Linked DNA regions of Homo sapiens: all the other regions are linked to region 3. The links are contacts of gene promoters, found by promoter capture Hi-C in blood cells and fetal thymus (Javierre and others, 2016). All regions are on one chromosome and are shown on one strand. The core of a region is centred on a gene start or on the middle of the fragment in contact, and the rest is flanking DNA. Distances in the headings are between cores, read along the strand shown.

Region 1 (2,703 bases), core at 85-2,584, 180 kb before region 3:
CCCCCCGCAGCAGGGCCCGGCGCTTCCACTTCCCCGGGTGCCCAGGAGTGAACATCCGGGTCAGCACCCCCCTCCCCCCGCGCCGGGCCGCCGCCACCTTCCTTCCCCGCCCCGGCCCGGCCCGGGCCCGCCCCCCACGCCGCCAGCTCGCGGCCAATGAGCGCGCGGGGCTGCGGCGATCGCCAAGTATGGAGAGCGGCGCGAGAGGCGGGCGCCGACGGGGTGCGGGGGCGGGGCCTGCGAGGCGGGGCGGGGCGCGGCGCTGCGCGGCGCGGCTGCCGGGAGTCCCCGGCACGGGTTGCGGGCCGGGGCGGAAAGGTCTCCTGGCTGTCTGAGGTCCAGTCCCCGACTCTGGGCCTGCAGCAGCGAGTGGCGGCGAGGGAACCGCACCCCACAGTCCCCGCGGGCGGGGATGCGGAAGGCACCGCGGCTGGGAGGGGACCGGCCCTCCGCGCCCCACCCCGTGCACGCGCTCACTCCTGCGGCGCACCCGGAACTGCCGCCGAGCGCGGACCGGCCCGGCCCAGCCCAACCCAGCCCAACCCAGCACTGGGGGAGCGCGCCGGGAGCGGGGCAGGAGCCCAGCGCTGCCGCTCGCTACGGCAGGATCTGGAGCGCCGCGCTGCACCTGAGCCCGGGCACGAATTGAGGAGCCTCGGGCTGACGCCATTTATTCAGCACCTACTATGTGCCAGGCCTTGTTTAGGCACCGGAAGATAACAGATAAGACATAAAGATCCCTGCCGGTATAGCTGCAGACAGAATATCTGTGAGGATGACACAGGTAGAGATTAGAAAATTAAGTTCAACAGGTCGGCCGCGGTGGCTCACGCCTGTAATCCCAGCACTTTGGAAGGCCGAGGCGGGCCAAGGTCAAGAGATCGAGACCATCCTGGCCAACATGGTGAAACCCCGTTTCTACTAAAAATACAAAAATTAGCTGGGCGTGGTGGTTCGCTCCTATAGTCCCAGCTACTCGGGAGGCTGAGGCAGGAGAATCGTTTGAACCCGGGGGCAGAGGTTGCAGTGAGCCAAGATCGCGCCACTGCACCCCAGCCTGGCGACAGAGCAAGACTCTGTCTCAAAAGAAAAAAAATTAAGTTCAACAAATGCTAGCTGTTATGAGTACTGTTGAATGTGCTACAGAGAACCATTCCATTAGCCCAGAAGGGCTTCCTCGCTCCACAAAGTGACTCAAGTTTCTCTCTCCCAATCTCTCTCTCTCTCTCTCAATCAAATATTTGTTAAGCTTAGTCTAGGTAGCAGGAGAGATCTGGATTGCTAACAATATCTGCCTCCGTGGCCTGTTTGCTTTGGTTAAATCAAATTAGGCGATCTGTGAGGGGATGGTAAACTGCACAGATGACAGGAATTGTTTCCCTGAGCCAGGCCCTGTCCTCAGGGAGCTCATAGACAAGTCGAAGCTTTCACAGGTAGCCACTGGCAGAAAAAGCATACGGGTAAGTCTCGCAAGAATGGTATTGGATGAGTATTACAGAAATTCAAGGAAGAGAATGGCACACGCAGTAGATACTTATTGAGCATCTGCTATGTGCCAAGCACTGTGCTAGGCTCTGGAAATAGAGCAATGAGCAAAATAACCCACATGGTTGTGGAGCTTGAGTGTTGTCAGGGAGACAGTCGGCCACCAGGCAAATACAGTGTCCAAGGCCAGGCACAGTGGCTCACGCCTGTAATCTCAGCACTTTGGGAGGCCGAGGTGGGCAATCGCTTGAAGTCAGGAGTTCCAGATCAGCCTGGCTAACATGGCGAAACCCCGTCTACTAAAAATACACAAAGTTAGCCGAGGCCGGGCGCAGTGGCTCACGCCTGTAATCCTAGCACTTTGGGAGGCCGAGGTGGGCGGATCACGGGGTCAGGAGATCGAGACCATCTTGGCTAACACGGTGAAACTCCGTCTCTACTAAAAATAAAAAAATTAGCTGGGCGGGATGACGGGCGCCTGTAGTCCCAGCTACTCGGGAGGCTGAGGCAGGAGAATGGCGTGAACCCGGGAGGCGGAGCTTGCAGTGAGCCGAGATCGCGCCACTGCACTCCAGCCTGGGCGACAGAGAGAGACTTCGTCTCAAAAATAAAATAGTAATAATAATAATACAGTGTCGGGTAGTGATTAGAGATAATGAGAAAAATTCAAGCAAACAGGTAGGCAGGCAAGGCCTAACTTAGCAATATTTGATCATATAGCTGAAGGGAAGGAGGGAGCAAGCCGTGTGGATAGCAGAGGCACAAGGAGCAGCAAGGGTAAAAACCCTGAAGGTGACAGTGCTGCATCAGCACTGGTGTGTTTTCAAGGGCCAGACAGGAGGCCAGTGTGGCTAGCCTAGGTCGAGCAGGAGCTGAAGGACAGGGCAATGACAAGATTTGACCTAGGCTTTAAAAGGATCATGAGGCTGCTGTGTTCTGAATGGACTGTAGGGGGACTAGGGCCTTAGAAAGCCATTTCTATATTGAGGACATTTATTTATTTAAAAAGCACTGATATGGCACATCCTATGTGATGAACACTGTTAAGCACCTTACAGATAATAAGCCATTTAATCCTCATGACAGAAGCCTGAAAAGGTAAGGAGCTTGCCCAAGGTCACACAGCAGAGAGATGAAGCTGGCTTAGACCAGGGTAGTAGCATTGGAGATGGCAAGAAGTAGATAGTATTCTAGGTATTTCCTGATGTATTGGTGGTA
Region 2 (2,864 bases), core at 205-2,704, 240 kb before region 3:
GTGGGCCCTCCGCCAGGTCTCTGTGTGCCAGCAGCCTGGAGCGGGGGGCGACTGTGCAGGCTGTTTGCTCCCCTTTGACAGCAGTCTCTGTCTCAAGTGGGGGCATCCAAAAGACCCTGAAAGAAGTGGAAGCAGGCTGGAGACGTCAGAAAGCTCCCTCACCGGCTCCCCTGCTCCTGCTCAACAGGCCCTGGTGGCTGCAGATGTCGTGCCCCCCAGTTGGTTCCATGGTGAACACACTCCAGTAGCGGATTACTTTTGCCCTTTGTTGTAACCTGGGTGTAAACATCAGGTAACATCCCCAGGCCAGGTTCCTTGAGAAGCTCCAAGGGAGGGAGAAAAGCCAGGCAAAGAACAAGTGGCAAGATGCACACGGGGTTAAAAGTGCTTCATTCATTCAATAGAAACTTAGGACACTAAGACCTGAACCACACTACAGTCAAGAGCTCACTCCACCCAGCAAACTGGACTGCAAATGCAGTAAACTATGTCACTGCAGAGGCAAGGACTGGAAAGACAACCATTACTCTTGTTTATCAAGCACTCTTTTAAAAAATGTTTTTCATTTTTTAAAGATAGGGTCTTGCTGTGTCACCCAGGCTGGAGTGTAGTGGCATGATCTTGGCTCCCTACAACCCCCACTTTCCAGGCTCAAGTGATCCTCCCACCTCAGCCTCCAAAGTAGCTGGGACCACAGGTGCATGCCACCACACCTGGCTAATTTTGTAGTTTTTTTTGGGGGGGAGGGGGGGAACATGGGGTTTTGCCATATTGCCCAGGGTGGTCTTGAACTCCTGGGCTCAAGCAGTCGAACTGCCTTGGCCTCCCAAAGTGCCGGGATTACAAGCATGAGCCATCGTGCCCAGCCCAAGCACCTTTTTAAAGCTATGCATCCTGTGCTTCACCATACTCTCCTCACAGTACATATGCTGCAAATATTTACTCAGAGCCACCATGTGCCAGTCACCATAAACATATAAAAAATAAATAAATAAAGGGAGGGGGAGAGGAAGGGAACAGAGCGGAGGCAAGGCTGGTAAAATGCAAAGTAAATTCAATGCACAGTGGGTTCTAACACAGAAGGCTAGACCTCAGGAGATGAGACAAGAAATAAAGTGAGAAAGGTGGGCCAGGTACAAGGGTGAAGACCTGTGTATGCAACTCTTAGAAGTACAGGTGACTCCAAGTAAGGCAGATGGAGTCCCCAACACTACCCAAGCAGCCACTATCTGATTTGTATCTGGAATCTGCTCTGCTCAGACCAATTTCAGGATTTTTGGAAGGCCTAAATCAACAAGCTACAGTCTCATAAAATACACAAAGTAATCCTCAAAATGCCACATTTGGCCTTAACGAAATATAACTTTTGAATATTACCGTTTACACTCCAGGTCTGTTAACCACAAGTAGGCCGTGGGGCAAGGACCCACTTCATAGTCACCAGAGACATAACACATTATTAAGGAGAGTCAATTTCATTTTTTTAAAAAAAGATATTGACATGGCATATACAGCCAGCTGTTTTAAAAAAGAATGAAAGAAAAGAAAAAGCCTGTCCCTTGCTCAAGATGGCTATCAGTGACAGTTCATCCTGGAACACACAACGAACTGGCTCCCCTGCAAAGAGAAAAGAAAAACACCACACCAGAAATTCTACCACTTGTTTTGCTGAATGCCAGCAACCATGAATTCCCTACTTGTGCCACGCATTTCTATGCCAACATGTGTCAGCCAAGGCCACAGTGATGGGTTTGGCCCACTGGCATGAGAGGAAATTTTAACACCACGTCTTGGGCAGAACACACAGATAAGCTGATTCGACTCTAGAGAGACATATTCAATTCCCAATACTGCCATTCATTAACTTATGGCCTTGGGTGGGTTTCTTAATCTCTAGAAGTCTCTATTTATTTATCCATAAAATGGGAACACAGTATCTTCCTTAGAGAGTGACAATAATTTAGTAATGCATGTGGAACATTTAATACACAGTAGTATGTGTTTAATGATTGGGGATATTGAGTGCATACAAATAAACATACAGCTTTTAAATCTTTTTAAAAATTTTAAATGATTCCCCTGCCCAACCTCCCCGCCCCTCAACCCAGCCCTGGATCTCTCTCTCTCTCTCTTGCTCCCCTTAAACTAGAGCTAATGTTCAAACTCAATACAAAGCTACGTATTCTCTTGGCCAAGCAAGAATAGAAAACCCTAAATGATTCAAGTCAAACTCGTTAAAAGGTATAAACTAGTATTTCTCAACTAGGGATGATTTTGCACACGTGCACACACATACACACACACCTCCAACAACCCTGCCAGGAGACATCTGGCAATGTATGGAGACATTTTTGTCACAACTGGGAGAGAAGAAACTACTGACATCTAATGGGTAGGGGCCAGGGATGCTTCTAAACATCCCAAAACGCGATACACAGCCTCCCCACAACAAAGAATCACCCGGCCCAAACGTTAATAGAGTTAAGGCTGAGAAGCCCTGGGCGAAAAATAATTGGTTTGGGGGCTGCAGATTCCCAGAATCTGATTGACAATAAAGTCCCCCTCAGGAAGACTGCACATGCAGGCAAACGTTTTATATATAATTCTAATTTAAAGACCACACATACACTTTGGGAGGCCAAGGCGGGCGGATCATGAGGTCAGGAGATTGAGACCATCCTGGCTAACGTGGTGAATCCCCGTCTCTACTAAAAATACAAAAAAATTAGCCGGGCGTGGTGGCGGGCGCCTGTAGTTCCAGCAACTCGGGAGGCTGAGGCAGGAGAATGGCATGAACCCGGGAGGCAGAGCTTGCAGTGAGCCCAGATCACTCCAGCCTGGGCGACAGAGCGAGACTCCATCTC
Region 3 (3,045 bases), core at 81-2,580:
CCTTCGATTTGGAAAGTATTATTTTTCTGTTTCTGTGGAGAAAAAATGATCCCACCCCGTTCTCTTTATACTACATTTTCTTTTTCTCTTTCTCTTCTTTCTTTCTCTTTCTTTCCTTTCTCTCTTTCTTTCTTTCCTTTTTTTTTTTTTTTTTTTTTTTTTTTTTGACAGAGTCTTGCTCTGTCACCCAGGCTGGAGTGTGCAGTGGCACAATCTTGGCTCACTGGAACCTCTGCCTCCCAGGTTCAAGCAATTCTCCTGCCTCAGCCTCCCGAATAGCTGGGATTACAGGCTCCCGCCACCACGCCCAGCTAATTTTTGTATTTTTGATAGAGACGGGGTTTTACCATGTTGGTCAGGCTGGTCTCGAACTCCTGACCTCAGGTGATCTGCCCACCTCCGCCTCCCAAAGTGCTGGGATTACAGGCGTGAGCCACCTCGCTGGGCCCACTTTCTCTGTTGATTATGCTTATTGTTTATTGTCTGTTTCTTCCACTAGAATGTAAGCTCCATGGAGGTGCGGATCTTTGTTTTGGCCACTGTAGTGTCCTGATGGGTCAGAACAGTGCCTGACATCTAGTGGATGCGCCTTAAAAGATGCATTGAAGTATCTGTTCAATGAATGAATGAATAACAGTATTAACCTGCACAGCAGTGTTAGGCAGAGACTCTTCTCAGCCAGAGGGGAGACGTACAGAGGGAGGTCACACCCAGGGGAAACCACACCCCACGCCTCTGCCTGCAGCGACTCTTAACACACCTGGCCTGGGGATTCTCAAATCTGTTCACGCTCTGTTAGACTAGGAGCGCCAACAGCTCAGGGACTTCATCCTTAGTACCTGGCCCCTTTGGGGATCGGGATGGTTTCTGCGGGAAAGGCCCTGGGGAAGGTTAGCTTCTTGCTCAAACTAACGGTGAAGAATGCCCAGAATTACTAACCCATTTTACAGATATGGCAACTGAGGCCCAGAGGGGTGTCAGGCGATTTGTCCAATATTTCCCAACTCCTGGCTCCCCTGAAAGCCCGGTGACCCCGTTGTGAGTGGGCAGGCACCCATTAGAGAGCAGCCCCTGGATAAGGGCAGGTCACAGCCCCCTGCTCCCAGTTCCGCCTGCGCCGCCGCCACGTGTGGGTTGGGAGGGGCATCTGAGGGTGTGGGGGCTGCCACAGCCCGGGAGGTGACCCCTCGCAGCTGGGGCGCTCTGATCTTCGGCCCACAGGCCCGGGGTGCCGGGACCCCGCCCTCCTGCAGGGCCAGGGCTCGGCTCTCCCCGCCCACCGCGAGGCGGGGCGCACGCTCCGCGGCGCGGGGACCGCGCGCTCCAGGCTGCACCCGGCCTCTCCTCCGCGCGTGCGGGCCCCTCGCGGCGCCTCCCGGGCTCGGGAGACCCGGTCCCGCCGCCCGCCCGGCCCGCGGCCGCCTCTTCCTCTCGCAGCCCCGCGGCGCTTGCCGCAGTCGCAGGCGGCGGAGCAGCCAGAGCGCCCCAGGTACCAGTGCGGGCGGGAGACGGAGGCGACCCTGCTGCCGGGTGGGGAGGGGGCGCCGCGCGGCCGCTGCCCTCCTCTTCCCGCGGGGCCTGGCGGCCCCGGCGAACCCCCGCGCCGCACAGGCCGTGTGCGCCGGATCCCGGTGCCTCCGCGCCAGCTGAGACCTGCCTTTCCCAGGGGCGGCTTTGCTCCGGCCCCTAGGCCCCCGCCCTGGTACCCCACACGCCCACCGGCCGCGGGGAGCCTGCTCCGGCCCGAGAGCGCCCATTCACCCCCCTCACCCACCTCCCCGCGTTCCCACTTCCCCGCACTCTGACCCGGCCGGACGCCCCTCCCCTATCTTGCCGCCCGCCCCCTCCAGGGGGCTCTGCTCCCACCCCAGGGAGCCCATCCGACCTCTGCTTGACTTCCCGCCGCTTCCTTCAGGGGCCTCGGCTCATCGGGTGCCCCTCCCCAAACTTCCAACCCGTTTGCTCCAGGAGTTCCTGCCCCATCCCCGAGGGCGCCCAAATAGCCACACTGTGTCCTCCTGTAGTCGCTGCCCCCTGACCTAGCGCGACCCAGCGCCCCCGCCCATGTCCCCCCACTCACCTCCCCCGGGGGGCGTGGTGAGTCGCGGTCTGTTCTCACGGACGGTCCCCGTCCAGCCTGCGCTTCGCCGGGGCCCTCATCTGCTTTCCCGCCACCCTATCACTCCCTTGCCGTCCACCCTCGGTCCTCATGGTCCCAGAGCCGGGCCCAACCGCCAATAGCACCCCGGCCTGGGGGGCAGGGCCGCCGTCGGCCCCGGGGGGCAGCGGCTGGGTGGCGGCCGCGCTGTGCGTGGTCATCGCGCTGACGGCGGCGGCCAACTCGCTGCTGATCGCGCTCATCTGCACTCAGCCCGCGCTGCGCAACACGTCCAACTTCTTCCTGGTGTCGCTCTTCACGTCTGACCTGATGGTGGGGCTGGTGGTGATGCCGCCGGCCATGCTGAACGCGCTGTACGGGCGCTGGGTGCTGGCGCGCGGCCTCTGCCTGCTCTGGACCGCCTTCGACGTGATGTGCTGCAGCGCCTCCATCCTCAACCTCTGCCTCATCAGCCTGGACCGCTACCTGCTCATCCTCTCGCCGCTGCGCTACAAGCTGCGCATGACGCCCCTGCGTGCCCTGGCCCTAGTCCTGGGCGCCTGGAGCCTCGCCGCTCTCGCCTCCTTCCTGCCCCTGCTGCTGGGCTGGCACGAGCTGGGCCACGCACGGCCACCCGTCCCTGGCCAGTGCCGCCTGCTGGCCAGCCTGCCTTTTGTCCTTGTGGCGTCGGGCCTCACCTTCTTCCTGCCCTCGGGTGCCATATGCTTCACCTACTGCAGGATCCTGCTAGCTGCCCGCAAGCAGGCCGTGCAGGTGGCCTCCCTCACCACCGGCATGGCCAGTCAGGCCTCGGAGACGCTGCAGGTACCTGGGGTGCGCAGGGAGACCCGGGCTGTGGGATAGAGAGGAATGAGCAGCCCCTGGGGACCCCCTGGGCATCCCCACTTAGCACACATTTGCTCATGGCCCTGCGTGGCTGTTGTGAG

The links. Contacts are between HindIII fragments. The CHiCAGO score rates a contact against its expected background, and 5 or more counts as called.
Region 1: a contact is called between a fragment that was not itself captured here and the fragment with the promoter of HTR6 in region 3, in 7 of 17 cell types (megakaryocytes, naive CD4 T cells, naive CD8 T cells and 4 more). The highest score is 8.4, in megakaryocytes.
Region 2: a fragment that was not itself captured here is called in contact with the fragment with the promoter of HTR6 in region 3 in 4 of 17 cell types (naive CD4 T cells, non-activated CD4 T cells, total CD8 T cells and 1 more); the score reaches 6.5 in naive CD4 T cells.

The regions. Positions count from the first base shown.
Region 1 is chr1:19,485,485-19,488,187 of GRCh38, forward strand. CAPZB (capping actin protein of muscle Z-line subunit beta) reads right to left here and starts at 55. Exons shown (of 9, transcript NM_004930.5): 1 at 1-55. It also overlaps a transcript of LOC105376819 not described here. RefSeq lists a silencer at 1-631 and an enhancer at 1,891-2,398. The HindIII fragment of the contact is 175 bases long and covers 1,248-1,422 here.
Region 2 is chr1:19,419,863-19,422,726 of GRCh38, forward strand. All of the region lies in intron 1 of CAPZB (capping actin protein of muscle Z-line subunit beta), which reads right to left. Among named protein-coding and RNA genes, the nearest start is that of CAPZB, 64 kb to the right of the region's middle. RefSeq lists an enhancer at 1-82. The HindIII fragment of the contact is 3,875 bases long and covers 1-2,864 here.
Region 3 is chr1:19,663,545-19,666,589 of GRCh38, forward strand. HTR6 (5-hydroxytryptamine receptor 6) reads left to right here and starts at 1,331. Exons shown (of 3, transcript NM_000871.3): 1 at 1,331-2,923. The coding sequence starts at 2,210. RefSeq lists a silencer at 1,145-1,374 and enhancers at 1,153-2,125, 2,126-3,045. The HindIII fragment of the contact is 8,359 bases long and covers 1-3,045 here.